Regions from separate parts of the Homo sapiens genome. Here region 2 is linked to region 1. Evidence: promoter capture Hi-C in human tissues and cell types (Jung and others, 2019). All regions are on one chromosome and are shown on one strand. Each heading gives the region's core, a stretch centred on a gene start or on the middle of the fragment in contact. The rest is flanking DNA. Distances are from core to core; before and after follow the strand shown.

Region 1 (6,949 bases), core at 2,324-4,823:
CTCACACCTGTAATCTCAGCACTTTGGGAGAGCGAGGTGGGCGGATCACCTGAGGTCAGGAGTTCGAGACCAGCCTGGCCAACGTGGTGAAACCCTGTCTCTACTAAAAGTACAAAAATTAGCTGGGCGTGGTGGCAGGCACCTGTAATCCCAGCTACTTGGGAGGCTGAGGCAGGAGAATCGCTTAAACCTGGAAGGCAGAGGTTGCAATGAGTCGAGATTGTGCCACTGCACTCCAACTTGGGTGACAGTGAGATTCCGTCTCAAAAAAAAAAAAAAAAAAAAAAAAGCCTGGGCGTGGTGGCTCACACCTGTAATTCCAGCACTTTGGGAGGCCAAGGCAGGTGGATTACCTGAGGTCAGGAGTTTAAGACCAGCCTGGCCAACGTGGTGAAACCCCATCTCTACTGTAAGTACAAAAATTAGCCAGGCATGGGGGTGCGCACCTGTAGTCCCAGCTACCGGGGAGGCTGAGGTGGCAGGATCACTTGAATCCAGGAGGCAGAGGTTGCAGCAAGCCGAGATTGCGCCATTGCACTCCAGCGTAGGCGACAGAGCGAGACAGTCTCAAAAATAATAATAAATAAAAATAACACACAAAATATCTTTTTATCTTTTATTTTATTATTGTAATCCCAAAGTGCTGGGATTACAGGCATGAGCCACCACGCCCAGCCTACTTTTTATTTTTTTTGAGACAGAGTCCCACTTTGTCACCCAGGCTGGAGTGCAGTGGCAGAATCTTGGCTTACTGCAACCTCCGCCTCCCAGGTTCAAAAGATTCTCGCGTCTCAGCCTCCCAAGTAGCTGGGATTATAGGCGCCCACCACTAAGCCCAGCTAATTTTTTTGTATTTTCAGTAGAGACGGGGTTTCGCCACGTTGGCCAGGCTGGTCTCGAACTCCTGACCTCAGGTGATCCACCCACCTCGGCTTCCCAAAGTGCTGGGATTACTGGCATAAGCCCCAGCGCCTGGCCTGGCTTTATTATTCTTCTTCTTACCTCTGACCCCCCCCTTCCCTGCAGCTGCAAATAGGGCAATCGCGTTGAACAGCAGTCTTAGACCCCGGAGAGTTGAGTGTGGTGACAGCTCTCAGACTGAGTGGGCATCTTTGACTGCCTTCCAAAGTCAAATATAAATGACTGAGGATTATCTGCTGCTTTGGATCATAATTACTTATGCTTATGCCATTGATATAAAAACAGAGTTGAGTTGGCCGGGCGCGGTGGCTCACGCCTGTAATCCCAGCACTTTGGGAGGCCGAGGCGGGCAGATCACGAGGTCAGGAGATCGAGCCCACCCTGGCTAACACGGTGAAACCCCGTCTCTACTAAAAATACAAAAAATTAGCCGGGTGAGGTGGCGGGCACCTGTAGTCCCAGCTACTTGGGAGGCTGAGGTAGGAGAATGGCGTGAACCCGGGAGGCAGAGCTTGCAGTGAGCCAAAATCGCGCCACTGCAATCCAGCCTGGGCGACAGAGCAAGAGAGCGAGACTCCGTCTCAGAAAAAAAAAAGAAAGAAAGAGTTGACTATATTTAGTTCTGTGTTTTATTTGTGTTTTCTTTCCCTGAGTCAGATGGGAACTGTTTCTTCCCGCCCTGCCATTCTTCCCATGTTGAGATCTTTCCCAAAGGCAAAGATCATTTCCCTTTTTGGCCATGGAGCACTCTGATGGTAAGAATTAGTCCTCTCATCACCCACCACACTCAACCCGAATAGGAAATTTCCAAGAATGGGAACCATGTCTTTGGGCACTTAGGCGAGATTACTCAATCAAAAGAGTGAGACTCAGGGACTGAAACATTCAATCAAGGTTAAAAACAGATTAAAATGTGGCAGTTACCTTTTTTCCCCTGATATAGAATACGCACTGGAGTCACAGTTACCTTTTAGTAACTGATTTCCTTGAGTGAATAGTGTATCAGAAAATGGGACTTTTATGGTGGCAAAGAATTCAGAGGGCCTGGGGCACACAGATCTGGATTTGTATACCGATTTGCCACTTAACCAGCTATGTGACTGTGCAATTTACCAACCTCTCAGGGCCACATTTTTTCATCTGTCAAAAAGGTCAATATGGCCAGGTACGGTGGCTCACACCTCTAATCCCAGCACTTTGGGAGGCCGAAATGGGCAGATCACGAGGTCAGGAGTTCGAGACCAGCCTGACCAACATGGTGAAACCCCGTCTCTACTAAAAATACAAAAATTAGCCAGGTGTGGTGGCGTGCGCCTTTAATCCCAGCTACTCAGGAGGCCGAGGCAAGAGAATCGCTTGAACCCAGGAGGCGAAGGTTGCAGTGAGCCGAGATCGCACCACTGCACTCCAGCCTGGGAGTCAGAGAGAGACTCCGTCTCAAAACAAAACAAAACAAAACAAAGGTTGAATAATAATAATAGGACCTATATTGTAGACTTGTTGAGAGGATTAAATGAGATAATGTACGAAATGCCTTACTACAGAGTCTGGCACTTATTAAAGAAAGAGTTGATGTGGGCTGGGTGCCGTGGCTCACGTCTGTAATCCCAGCACTTTGCGGGGTTGGGGTAGGAAGATCCTTAGAGGCCAGGAGTTCGAGACCAGCCTGGGCAACAAGGCGAGACCCTCGTCTCTACAAAAAATATATAAATTATCCGGGTGTGGTGGCTCATGCCTATAGTCCTAGGTACTTGGGAGGCTGAGGTGGGAGGATACCTTGATTGCAGTGAGCTGTGATCTTGAGCCATTGCGCTCCAGCCTGGGCGACAGAAGGCGGCCGTATTTAAAAAAGAAAAAAGAAAGAAAGAAAGAAAAGAAAAGAAAAAAAGGGTCGTTGTGGAAAATTCTTGTGGGGAATTAAAGGGACCACGTGTGCGCGAAAGAGCTTGGCGAAGATAAGTACCTGGAGGCCAAGATGAGGCGGCGAGCCCTGCCTCCCTAGCAGTGTGGTCTCCTGGCTTAGGGTCAGTGCTTCGCACAAAAAAATCCACTGCCTCTCATGAGACCTTGAACTGCCAATGACCGCAGGTTGCCCAGACTCCCGAGTGAGGAAGGCGGCCAGGAGTCAACTAGGCTTCTTGCGGAAAAGCCCACTCTAAGAAGGCCTGGGGCATTCCGGCTCCAGGCAGGTAGCACCCGCGGGCCTCAGGCCCTTTCACTTACCCGGGAAACGTAACGGTCCTTAACGGCAGCCAATAACGGCTCCCAGCGGCCCAGGCACTGGCAAGGGCAGGCTGAAATCAAACCTCGGATTTTGGAACCTCCACGCCTGAAACCCTAAACCAGCATCGAACTACAACTCCCATCATGCCAGGCGGCCGCCCGGTTCCCAAGGGTCGGTCCCACCAACCTTGCGCCCCTTCTTTCCTCAAAGCGTGGCCGAATGCCTAGGCTTCCGGGTATCAGTGGCCCCGCCTCTTAATCCGACCGGAGCCGTCCCTCGTGATTCCTGGGTATTGTAGTCAGTTTCCTGGGAAAGAGTCGCTCCTAGTGGCAGCTCGCTTCGCCAGAAAAACTACAAAACCCAGAATGCAGCGCAAATTCCCCTTGTCCAATAGGAACCCCCCATGTAGTGGGGCGCGGAGCCCTGCTCTCGCAACTCAAGATGGCGGACGAGAGTGAGACAGCAGTGAAGCCGCCGGCACCTCCGCTGCCGCAGATGATGGAAGGGAACGGGAACGGCCATGAGCACTGCAGCGATTGCGAGAATGAGGAGGACAACAGCTACAACCGGGGGTAACGAAATCCTCGGAGTCCAATTCCCGTCCAGCCTCCCACAACCTGGGTCTCTGGGGTGCGGGGAAGTCACCGGGAGCTTAGTCTAGCCCCACCCTCATGTTCTTATTGGCTAAGTCACTAGGATTCTGCCTGGCGATTGGTTATTGCCTTTGTCATTTACCAAGGGTGGGTGCTCTGGATATTAAGGGCCGGAGACGTTCAGTACTTTTATTATATAAAAGTTCTATGCAGTGTTCCACTCGTGTGCTTCAGGCCATTCCTGGGAAAAGAGCATGTTGGACGATGGTTTTCGATGGTACAACACAGGACAGTCTAGTAACAGTACAGTTCAAAGGGAACGTTACTTATAGACGTGTTGTTTGAACAACGTGACTAGCAATAAACGAATCATAAAACATTTCGCAGCAGTTCACCCTCAGTGAGGAAACTCATCAGACTATACAAACTGTATGTATAATTATATTGTAAAATATCACTACCAGAGAATCCCAAAATATAAACTCACCTTATAAACCTATGTAATTAACGGTATGGTAATGCTTTGATTTACATAGTTTCCATTGCTCCAAATAATCCATAAGTATCCTGAACGATATATTAATATAATTAAGTCTTCGAACATCTTTGCCTTGTTACCTTTGCAGAGCAGCCCCAGGCTTCAAGAAATGAGCGATGTTGTTTCTTGGAGAGTATTTGGAATCCTCGGGCTCCATACTGCCTATCCTGTACTTTAGGGTCTTGCCATTAGTTACTATTTGTTCCTAGGGATGAAGAAACACACCAGGCATTTGAATGTTGAATTCTTTTCCCAAATTAGTTTTTACTTCTGTAAGCCACAGCTTATTCATCTTTCTTCACATGGTTAGTGCCTGGCACTGGCACTCACGCTGTCTCTCCCCATCTTCCTGTCTATATTTGTAGATATATTTTTAAACTGAAAGTCGTGAGAGATTTTTGGGTGTATAACTTGCTGAGTCTGAGGTAGTCTGATTTTCGTAGCCAGCTTGTTATTCGCAGTATTGGTGGCAGTGCAGATATAAAGGTATAAAGACCAAGGACTGCGTAGAAGAGATGGTCCCACAAGATTATAGTACATATTTTTATTGTATCCTTTCTATGTTTAGGTATGCTTAGATACACAAATACTTACCATTGTATTATAGTTGCCTGCAGTACTCAGTAACATGCAGCAGCCTATTGCTCCTAGGCTACAAACCTGTATAGCATGTTACTGTAATGTACACCATATAGCCTAGGCATTTAGTAGGCTATACCATCTAGATTTGTGTAAGTACACCCTATAATGTTGGCAAGGCAAAAATCACCTAACCATGCATTTCCCAGCACATATGCCTGACGTTCAGTGAAGCATGACTGTATTTAAGTGGTTTATAATCTGCTTGTGGTAAATCTTAGGTTAAAAGATCTAGCTTTTATGTTCTTCAGCCGGCATTAAAAATCACAGGAAGGGCCGGGCATGGTGGCTCATGCCTGTAATCCCAGTACTTTGGGAGGCAGATCACGAGGTCAGGAGATCGAGACCATCCTGGCTAACACTGTGAAATCCCATCTCTACTAAAAATACAAAAAATTTAGCCGGGCGTGGTGGCGGGCGCCTGTAGTCCCAACTACTCGGGAGGCTAAGGCAGGAGAATGGCGTGAACCCAGGAGGCAGAGCTTGCAGTGAGCTGAGATCACGCCACTGCACTCCAGCCTGGGCGACAGAGCGAGACTCCGACTCAAAAAAAAAAAAAAAAAAAAAAAATCACAGGAAGAAAGTAGAGGAATAGGAAGCTTGCCAAATTTAGTTTTTATAAGACTGTTCTGTTGCTGTAACTCACAACAGATCTAATGTAATAAAAGTCTTCTTTTGAAGTTTGATATTCCTAAAAATGGAAGAGCTGAGAAAGAGGAAGTAGGAACAGGAAGAAGGGAAAGTGAAGCTCTCCTGAGTAGAGATCTGAATCACAGATGAGAGTTGGTGAATGTGAAAGTCATTCCAGAAGTGAAAGTGTGGCATTTTCTTTGCTCTTTTTGTAGTTGCTTTTATTTTTATCTTCTTAACTGTTGTCCTGACCAGTGTCCTTAGGTTTGTGCCCTATAATCTGTGAATCACTTTTCAAAACTGTGTGCCAGAAAGTTATTTTATTGGCCTGGCGTGGTAGCTCACACCTGTAATCCCAGCACTTTGGGAGGCCGAGGCAGGTGGATCACTTGAGGTCAGCAGTTCGAGAACAGCATGGCCAACATGGTGAAACCCCGTCTCCACTAAAAATACAAAATTTAGCTGGGCATGGTGGCGTACGCCTATAGTCCCAGCTACTCCGGAGACTGAGGCAGGAGAATCACTTGAACCTGGGAGGTGGAGGCTGCAGTGAGTTGAGATTGCACCACTGCACTCCAGCCTGGGCAATAGAGCAAAGCCCTGTCTCAGAAAAAAAAGTGGCACACAGTGGCTCATGCCTGTAATCCCATCACTCTGGGAGGCCGAGGCGGGTGGATCACGAGGTCAAGAGATTGAGACCATCCTGGCTAACATGGTGAAACCCTGTCTCTATTAAAAATAGAAAAATTAGCTGGGCATGGTGGTGCATACCTGTAGTCCCAGCTACTCGGGAGGCTGAGGCAGGAGAATCACTCGAACCCGGGAGGCGGAGGTTGCAGTGAGCTGAGATTGCGCCACTGCACACCAGCTTGGCAACGGAGCGAGACTCCATCTCAAAAAAATAAATAAATAAAATTATTTTATTTGTAGTAGAAGTAAGTGATAACCTTAAAAACTTTGACAGTTTGCAGTGGTGTCTCTGTGCATGGTTATGGTCTGGGTGAAAAAATTATGTTTATTAGCGTCCCAAATCTAAAGATCTGTGAAAATGAGTTTGGAGGTAGTAGGTGAAAAACCAAGGGCCTAGTCTGGAGGAGAGAGTCTAATTCTGGCACTAAGAATCTGGGGTAGAGTCAACATTTTTCCATGAACTTTGAGAGGAAATGGTTTTGGGGAGAAGCAGCAATGTGGGAAAATGCAGCACGGCACAGTAGAAAAGCATGGACTTTGGAATAATTTAAATCTGGTCTGAGGCCAGGCGCGGTGGCGCACATCTGTAATCCCAGCACTTTGGGAGGCTGAGGTGGGCAGATCGCTTGTGGTCAGGAGTTTGAGACCAGCCTGGCCAGCATAGTGAAACCTCATCTCTACTAAAAATACAAAAATTAGCTGGGCATGATGGCA
Region 2 (6,949 bases), core at 1,554-4,053, 250 kb after region 1:
ACCATGGTTGACCTCTAATTCATTCTTTTTAAGGCTTCATAAGATTGGAAGGTACAGATGTATCATCATTTTCCCACCTGGAAACTTTGTTTCCAATTTTTCACTTATACGTAATAATGGAAAAAACTCTACCCTTATTCACATTTATGTGTACATGTAGAAGGAATTCTAGGTGGTAAGCTCTTGGGATTGGAATTTCTGGGTGACTCTTTTGTTAATGGGTTATATCTTTTCTCCTGTTTCTATGTGTCAGAGAAGTAGATAGCATCAGATAGGTGGTTTCCAAACATTGTATTATTTATTTGCTGTGAAGATGCTATCCTTGCTTTCAACATGCCTATAGTCTAGATGGGGAAAAAATGGGTAGATGGATAAATAAATCATAAAGGAATAATCAAAGTGCTCTTAGGATCAGAAAGACCCTCAGAGGTAATTTCTTCCAACATATTACTTACTAATCCTGAGGAATGGCCATTCAGCTACATGACAGGATGGCCTTGGAGTCAGAAGATCTGAGTTTGAATCTTAGTTTCTCAATACTCTGGTGTGTGACCATGGGCAGGTCACATAATCTGAGACTCAGGAGTCTTATCTGTAATATAGGGATCCTCAAACCTACATGATAGAATTTTACACGGTGACTCAATGCAAGGAACAAAGTTTAAATTACATAGCACAGTGCCTGGCATGCAGTGGGCACTCTGGAAACATCAGTGGAACCTCCAGTGAGATGGAAGCCGCTACAAGATGAGCAGTCAGACCTTTGTATGACTGGAAGTGTAAGATTTTTTTTGGTTTTATGTTTTTTTATTTTTTTTATTTTTTGAGACGGAGTCTTGCTCTGTCGCCCAGGCTGGAGTGCAGTGACGCAATCTCGGCTCACTGCAAGCTCTGCCTGCCGGGTTTACACCATTCTCCAGCCTCAGCCTCCTGAGTAGCGGGACTACAGGCACCCGCCACCACGCTCAGCTAATTTTTTGTATTTTTAGTAGAGACAGGATTTCACCATGTTAGCCAGGATGGTCTCGATCTCCTGACCTCGTGATCCACCTGCCTCGGCCTCCCAAAGTGCTGGGATTACAGGCGTGAGCCACAGCGCCCGGCCGTTTTTTTTTTTTTTTTTGTGAGACAGAGTCTTGCTGTCACCCAGGCTGGAGTGCAGTGGTGTGATCTTGGCTCACTGCAACCTCCACCTCCCGAATTCAAGCGATTCTTATGCCTCAGCCACCCAAGTGGCTGGGATTACAGGCATGTACCACCACGCATGGCTAATTTCATTTATTTATTTTTTTGTAGAAATGGGATTGTGCCATCTTGGCCAGGCTGATCTCAAACTCCTGGCCTCAAGTGATCTGCCCACCTCAGCCTCCCAAAGTGCTAGGATTACAGATGTGAGTCATGGTCTATAAGTGTTAAGTTGCTTCAAAGTTGCTGCTATAAGGCACTGAAGCCTACCTCCCACAGCTTCTAGCCAGCAGCCCTAGCATCAGACAGAAAGTCTGGAACAGATGTGGTCAAAGCAGGAGGAGGACAATCCTGAAAGCAGAGGGACAGAGTGGTCGGCAAGAACCCATGAAGATGTTCTTTGAAGAGCATTCTGCACACCCCATCTGGCTTCTGTGTCCACTGGCAGTGCCTCAGCTCTGCGTGATGAACTGGGACCCACAATTCCTTGGCAGCTAAAGCTGAAATTAGTTGTCCTGTGGTCATCTTTGAGTGTTACAACAATCTGCTATTTGTATACACATAACTACATGCTGGTTGTTGGTAATCATACAAATGAATAATAATGACAGCTATTATTATCTGCCATGTATTAGGTAATGCGTGCATTTTTTTCTTGAATCCTCACAACTCTGTGAGCAAGGCACTAATGTTATCCGTTTACAAGGAGGAAGAAACTGGGCCTCAGTAGGCCAAGTAATTTGCCCAAGGCCACACAGCAGTGAAGTGGCAGCGGCAGGATTTGCACAAGAGACTTTTATGTCAAAGCCCATACTCTTAACCATGACACTCTTCCTACTCCCAAATGATCTAAGCTTTAAAAATTGGGACCGAGATGCAGAAGCTGTCACAAGTCAAAGGTTAGTGAGAAATTCAGGGACTGGCCTGGGAGGAAGCACCTTAATTAGGAAGCATGAACTACAGCCAGCCTATGTTCTGGAAAAAGCAACTTTAAAATGACAACAGGGAAGAAAGACTCCAAGCTGGACTTGTGGTGGGCCTGTGTTCCTCAGCCCACCCAGGCCTGACATAGCCAGGCCCATTCCAAGGAGAAATTCTATGACAAATGCAAATTTGCCATTCACTTTACAAAGCCTGGCTGCAGGCTTCTTGAACCTATTTACCATTCTTTTTATAACAAAGACTCGAGCATCATTTGCTATCTTCATAAATTTCATCAGTACTTTTGCCCCCAGGCCCTGATACAGGGCATTTTATAAGCTTTAAAAGAGAAGTATTACAATGGTATTTTCAATTCAACCTTCAAATCCTTTGCACAAGGAGAGCCAACAGCAAATAGAAAAGACGCCACAGGGGGCATCATGGATCCACAAAGACCCAATATGCAGGAGAACATGTCGGGCAAGGTAGTATTGAGATAAAAACCTGTCACACGTGTACTTAATTTTATACAATAAGCAACAAGGAATGTTTAATGTATATTGTATAAAAAATTTTTCAGGCCGGGAGTGGTGGCTCACACCTGTAATCCTAGCACATTGGGAGGCCCAGGCGGGCGGACTGCCTGAGGTTGTGAGATCGAGACCAGCCTGGCCAACATGGCAAAACGCTGCCTCCACTAGAAATACAAAAATTAGCTGGGTGTGGTGGTGGGTGCCTGTAATCCCAGCTACTCGGGAGGCTGAGGCACAAGAATCGCTTGAACCCGGGAGGTGGAGGTTGCAGTGAGCCGAGATTGTGCCACTGCACTCCAACCTAGGCAACAGAGTGAGACTCTGTCTCAAAAAATTAAAAAAAAAAATTAATTAATTAATTAATTAAAAAAATTTCAAGTGTCATCGAAATCAGCAACTTAGGGTATTTTGTGTAACTGAATATTCTGATTAAGTGGGGGCTGCCCTGTATGCCACTTAACATGACCAATTTCCAAAGATTAGATGGCCATAATTGCCCTTGACACTAAAATCATGTGAAACACAGCCAGTTTCTTTGATGACTCAAAACGTACTTTGTGATCTTGCCAAGCTTTGAGATCATCGTTACAAGCAGCATTTTGGTTGTGAAAAACAACTCTCCTTATTTAACCTTTTGGGGTGGATTCTGAGCAAGAAGTTCCCTAGGCTACGGTCAATCTCGCTGAAATACAACCACCCACCGCTCCTTTCTGGGTTTAGAAATCTGGTTTTCAGAGGTGGGAGTGGCTTCAAGCAGCGTCTACCTGTGTTCAGAAAAGATGAAGAAAGACAGGCTCAGGCTCCCTGTATAGGAGAATTCAAGTTCATTGTAGTCACTGGTGACTGGTTCTGAAATTGAGGAACTAGTTTGAGGAACTTCAGAATAAACAAGAAACCCAAAGAACTCAGCTTCCACAGAAGGCTTCCAATGCATGGAAGGAGGCACAGGTCCAGCTCCGCCCTGTGGCGGGGCAACCTTGACCCTGGCCTCATTTCAGATGCTGCCCCACATGCTCTTTGACAAGCTGGACCAAGTAACCAGCTTGAGGACATGAGTGGCAGAGGGGTCCCTTTATAATGAGGGGTCATATTCTTGTCCTCCCTTGGGAAGGTAAAAAAGGGCTTGGGACATGGGGCATGATGAGGAATATTCTCAGAGGATCTCACACGATTCTTTGGTAAAAGAGGGTAAATCATGAAACAGCCCACGGCTCTCTCGTCCTCCCCGAGGCCAGCAGGGCTTAGCGGGAGGAGTTTGGATTCAAGTCTTGTACTTTCACTCAACAGCAAATATTTAATCAGTGGCTACCATGTTTCAGGCACCGTGCTGGCCAGCAGGAATATGAGGATGACCAAGAGCCTTCTCTGTTGAAACCCTTGAAAGGCCTTCTTGGAATGCTGAACCCAGTTACCTAGAAGCACTGCCTTGATCTACCTGCCTACAACTCTCTAGTGGCACCAAGCCTATGGGATGTGCCAGTGTGGTCACTGCCCTCCCAATTCTCACTTGGAGGGGTGGGAGGTGGTCAGTTATGTGTTTATTAGCTGGCTACTCACTGTCTGATTCTACTTTGAACTATATTTTCTTTTTTGAGAAGAGGACTTGTTCTGTCACCCAGGCTGGAATGCAGTGGTACAACCATAGCTTACTACAGCCTCGAACTCCTGAGCTCAAGTGATCATCCCACCTCAGCCTCTGAAGTAGCTGGACTACAGGTAAGCACCACCATGCCCAGCTAATCTTTTTTTTTTTTTTTTGACAGAGTCTTGCTCTGTCGCCCAGGCTGGGGTGCAGTGGTGCGATCATGGCTCATTGCAACCTCTGCCTCCCAGGTTCAAGTGATTCTTGTGCCTCAGCCTCCCGAGTAGCTGGGATTACAAGTGCCCACCAACACACCTGGCTAATTTTTGTATTTTTAGTAGAGACGGGTCTCACCATGTTGGCCAGGCTGGTCTTGACCTCCTGGCCTCAAGTGGTCTGCCTGTCTTGGCCTCCCGAAGTGCTGGGATTACAGGTGTGAGCCACTGCGCCTGGCAATGTCCAGCTAGTTTAAAAAAATTTTTTTTTTGGAGGTGGATCTCACTATGTTGTCCAGGCTGGTCTCCAGTTCTTGGCCTAAAAGGCAATCCTCCTGCCTTAGCCTCCCAAGTCATTGGGATTACAGGCATGAGCCACTGTGCCCAAGCAACATTTGAGCAAATTTCTCCTGACTGTCCCTACGCTTCTGAAAATGCACTTCTTTCCCCCAGAGTGCTGAAGTTGCCCAACTGTTACCAAGCTCCCGCTCCAAGCTGACAAGTGGTACAAGACCCCAGGGTGAGAGAAATACCAAGGTGTTCCCACCCAGGCACCTGCAGAATCCGAGACGCTCTACGCCTGACAGTGCTGGCTCAGGCTGGAAAAGGAGGGCCACTGGGCTGCGCATGGTGGCCTCCTCGCTCCCTCCAGCTCCTATAGTCATGGCTCCTGACCAGCACCGGGGTTGACCTGTGAGATGTCTGCCTTCGTGCCCAGCTTACCCCTGTCTTGGTGAGGTCCTCCAGGGCGGTGCCTCAATTGTGTTTGGTTTTCTAGCACCTAGCAGACATGGCCCATTTGACACACTTGGCAAATGTTCCTGAGTGAAAGGACAGACACACTTCTGAGGAATAAATGAGTGCCACAGGCTCTGAGAGCCTGGCTGGACAGGGACACGTGTCCACACTGTCCAATCACCTGGCAGGCTGGAAGGGAGGGAGTCACAACTTGGTGGCTGTATTCTAACTGCACCCCAGCAAGCAGGTGTCCTGAAAGATGGCTGTGGAGCCTCTCCTGCCATCCCCTTTCCTAAATGCTGACCTAGAGACCCAATTACTTCTAATTGCTTGAGAAGATAACCCTTCTGAACTGGACAACACCCATCTGGGCTCGGATTTGCATATATTTGCAAGTATCTAATACATGCTAGAGGGAGGTGGTGCAGGACTCTGTCCTTCACATTGATCTATACAAAGCTATTCCTGCCTCTCCAGGCACAGCATCTGCCAGTGGAGACTGTTGGGCAGGACTCAAGGAGTCTGGTGGGTCCAATCAACTCCCTTGGCCAAAGGAGTCCATCTTTTTTTTTTTTTTTTTTTTTTTTGAGACGGAGTTTCGCTCTTGTCGCCCAGGCTGGAGTGCAATGGTGGATCTTGGCTCACTGCAACCTCCACCTCCCAGGTTCAAGTGATTCTCCTACCCCAGCCTCCCGAGTAGCTGGGATTACAGGCATGTGCCACCATGCCCAGCTAACTTTTTTGTATTTTTAGTAGAGATGGGGTTTCACCATGTTGGCCAGGATGGTCTCAATCTCTTGACCTTGTGATCCGCCCGCCTCAGCCTCCCAAAGCACTGGGATTACAGGCACGAGCCACCGTGCCCAGCCTCCATTTATAATCTTAACTGGCAACCACATCCTCATTGGAGGCTGGCTAAGCCTCCTTTTCCTCCCAACCCTCCTGGCTATCCCTAGTATGGACCAGAAACACCTACCTTTTAATTCTGGCCCAGTAAAAGGAAACTTTAATGTCAGTAGAAGGTGGGTGGTAGATTTTGGCTACAATAATTCTTTGCACTTACAGGGGCCACCATCCAGATATGACATCATGACATCATGCTTCACCCACAAGGAAGAGCCTCTCACTGAGAGGAGCCAGGCAGATCAGCTAGGATAACACCCAGAGTATGCATGCACCTCCTGCACAGAAGAAAGATGCAGAAGAGCTTCGTGCACTGTGGGTTTGGACCCCTGTAATCAATCATTGAAAGTTACTAAATACCCACTCTAGGTGAGATACTGCTTGGCTAGGTAGGAAAGTGCCCTAAAGGTGTGGGCAACCTTTGAGACTTCCTGGTAATTGTATTTTCTTATCAACCTTGACCTCCTTTTGATTACATGAACCTCATGGTATAAGACAGCGTCCAACAAATAGCTTTCTGTTTACTTTTTCTTAGACCCAGGGCAGCAGCTGCTGTGGCTCCACCCTTCCCAGGCCTGGCAGAGCTTGCAGAAAGGCTGAGAGTGATAGGGTTGTGGTAGGGGAATAAAAGGAGAAGCTAGTTTAAAAAAAAAAATCCTGCTTCAGGATTAGTTCCTTCGTTCCCTGGCAGCAGAGTACAGTGAAGAGTCTGGGTTTTATAGTTCAGGCTCTGCCATTAACTAGCTGTGTGGCCTTGGGCAACCCACTTGGCTTTCTTGGGCCACCATTTTCTCTTCTGCATTTTCTCACTGCAAAAAATGTGAATGATCATGTCCAGGCTATAATCCTAACAGCTCTTTCTGGACAGTGAG

Evidence for each region. Contacts are between HindIII fragments. The study calls those that stand out against the background at their distance.
Region 2: a contact is called between a fragment that was not itself captured here and the fragment with the promoter of NMT1 in region 1, in 2 of the 25 tissues and cell types used here (IMR-90 fibroblasts and mesenchymal stem cells).

What each region holds. Positions count from the first base shown.
Region 1 is chr17:45,057,744-45,064,692 of GRCh38, forward strand. It overlaps NMT1 (N-myristoyltransferase 1), which reads left to right and starts at 3,574. Exons shown (of 12, transcript NM_021079.5): 1 at 3,574-3,717. The coding sequence starts at 3,587. It also overlaps a transcript of DCAKD not described here. RefSeq lists enhancers at 2,354-3,345, 3,205-3,384, 3,346-4,337, 3,485-3,844, 3,698-3,992 and 1 more. The HindIII fragment of the contact is 5,390 bases long and covers 916-6,305 here.
Region 2 is chr17:45,304,291-45,311,239 of GRCh38, forward strand. The region is part of intron 1 of MAP3K14 (mitogen-activated protein kinase kinase kinase 14); the gene reads right to left. Among named protein-coding and RNA genes, the nearest start is that of MAP3K14, 9.3 kb to the right of the region's middle. RefSeq lists an enhancer at 3,422-3,561. The HindIII fragment of the contact is 4,981 bases long and covers 314-5,294 here.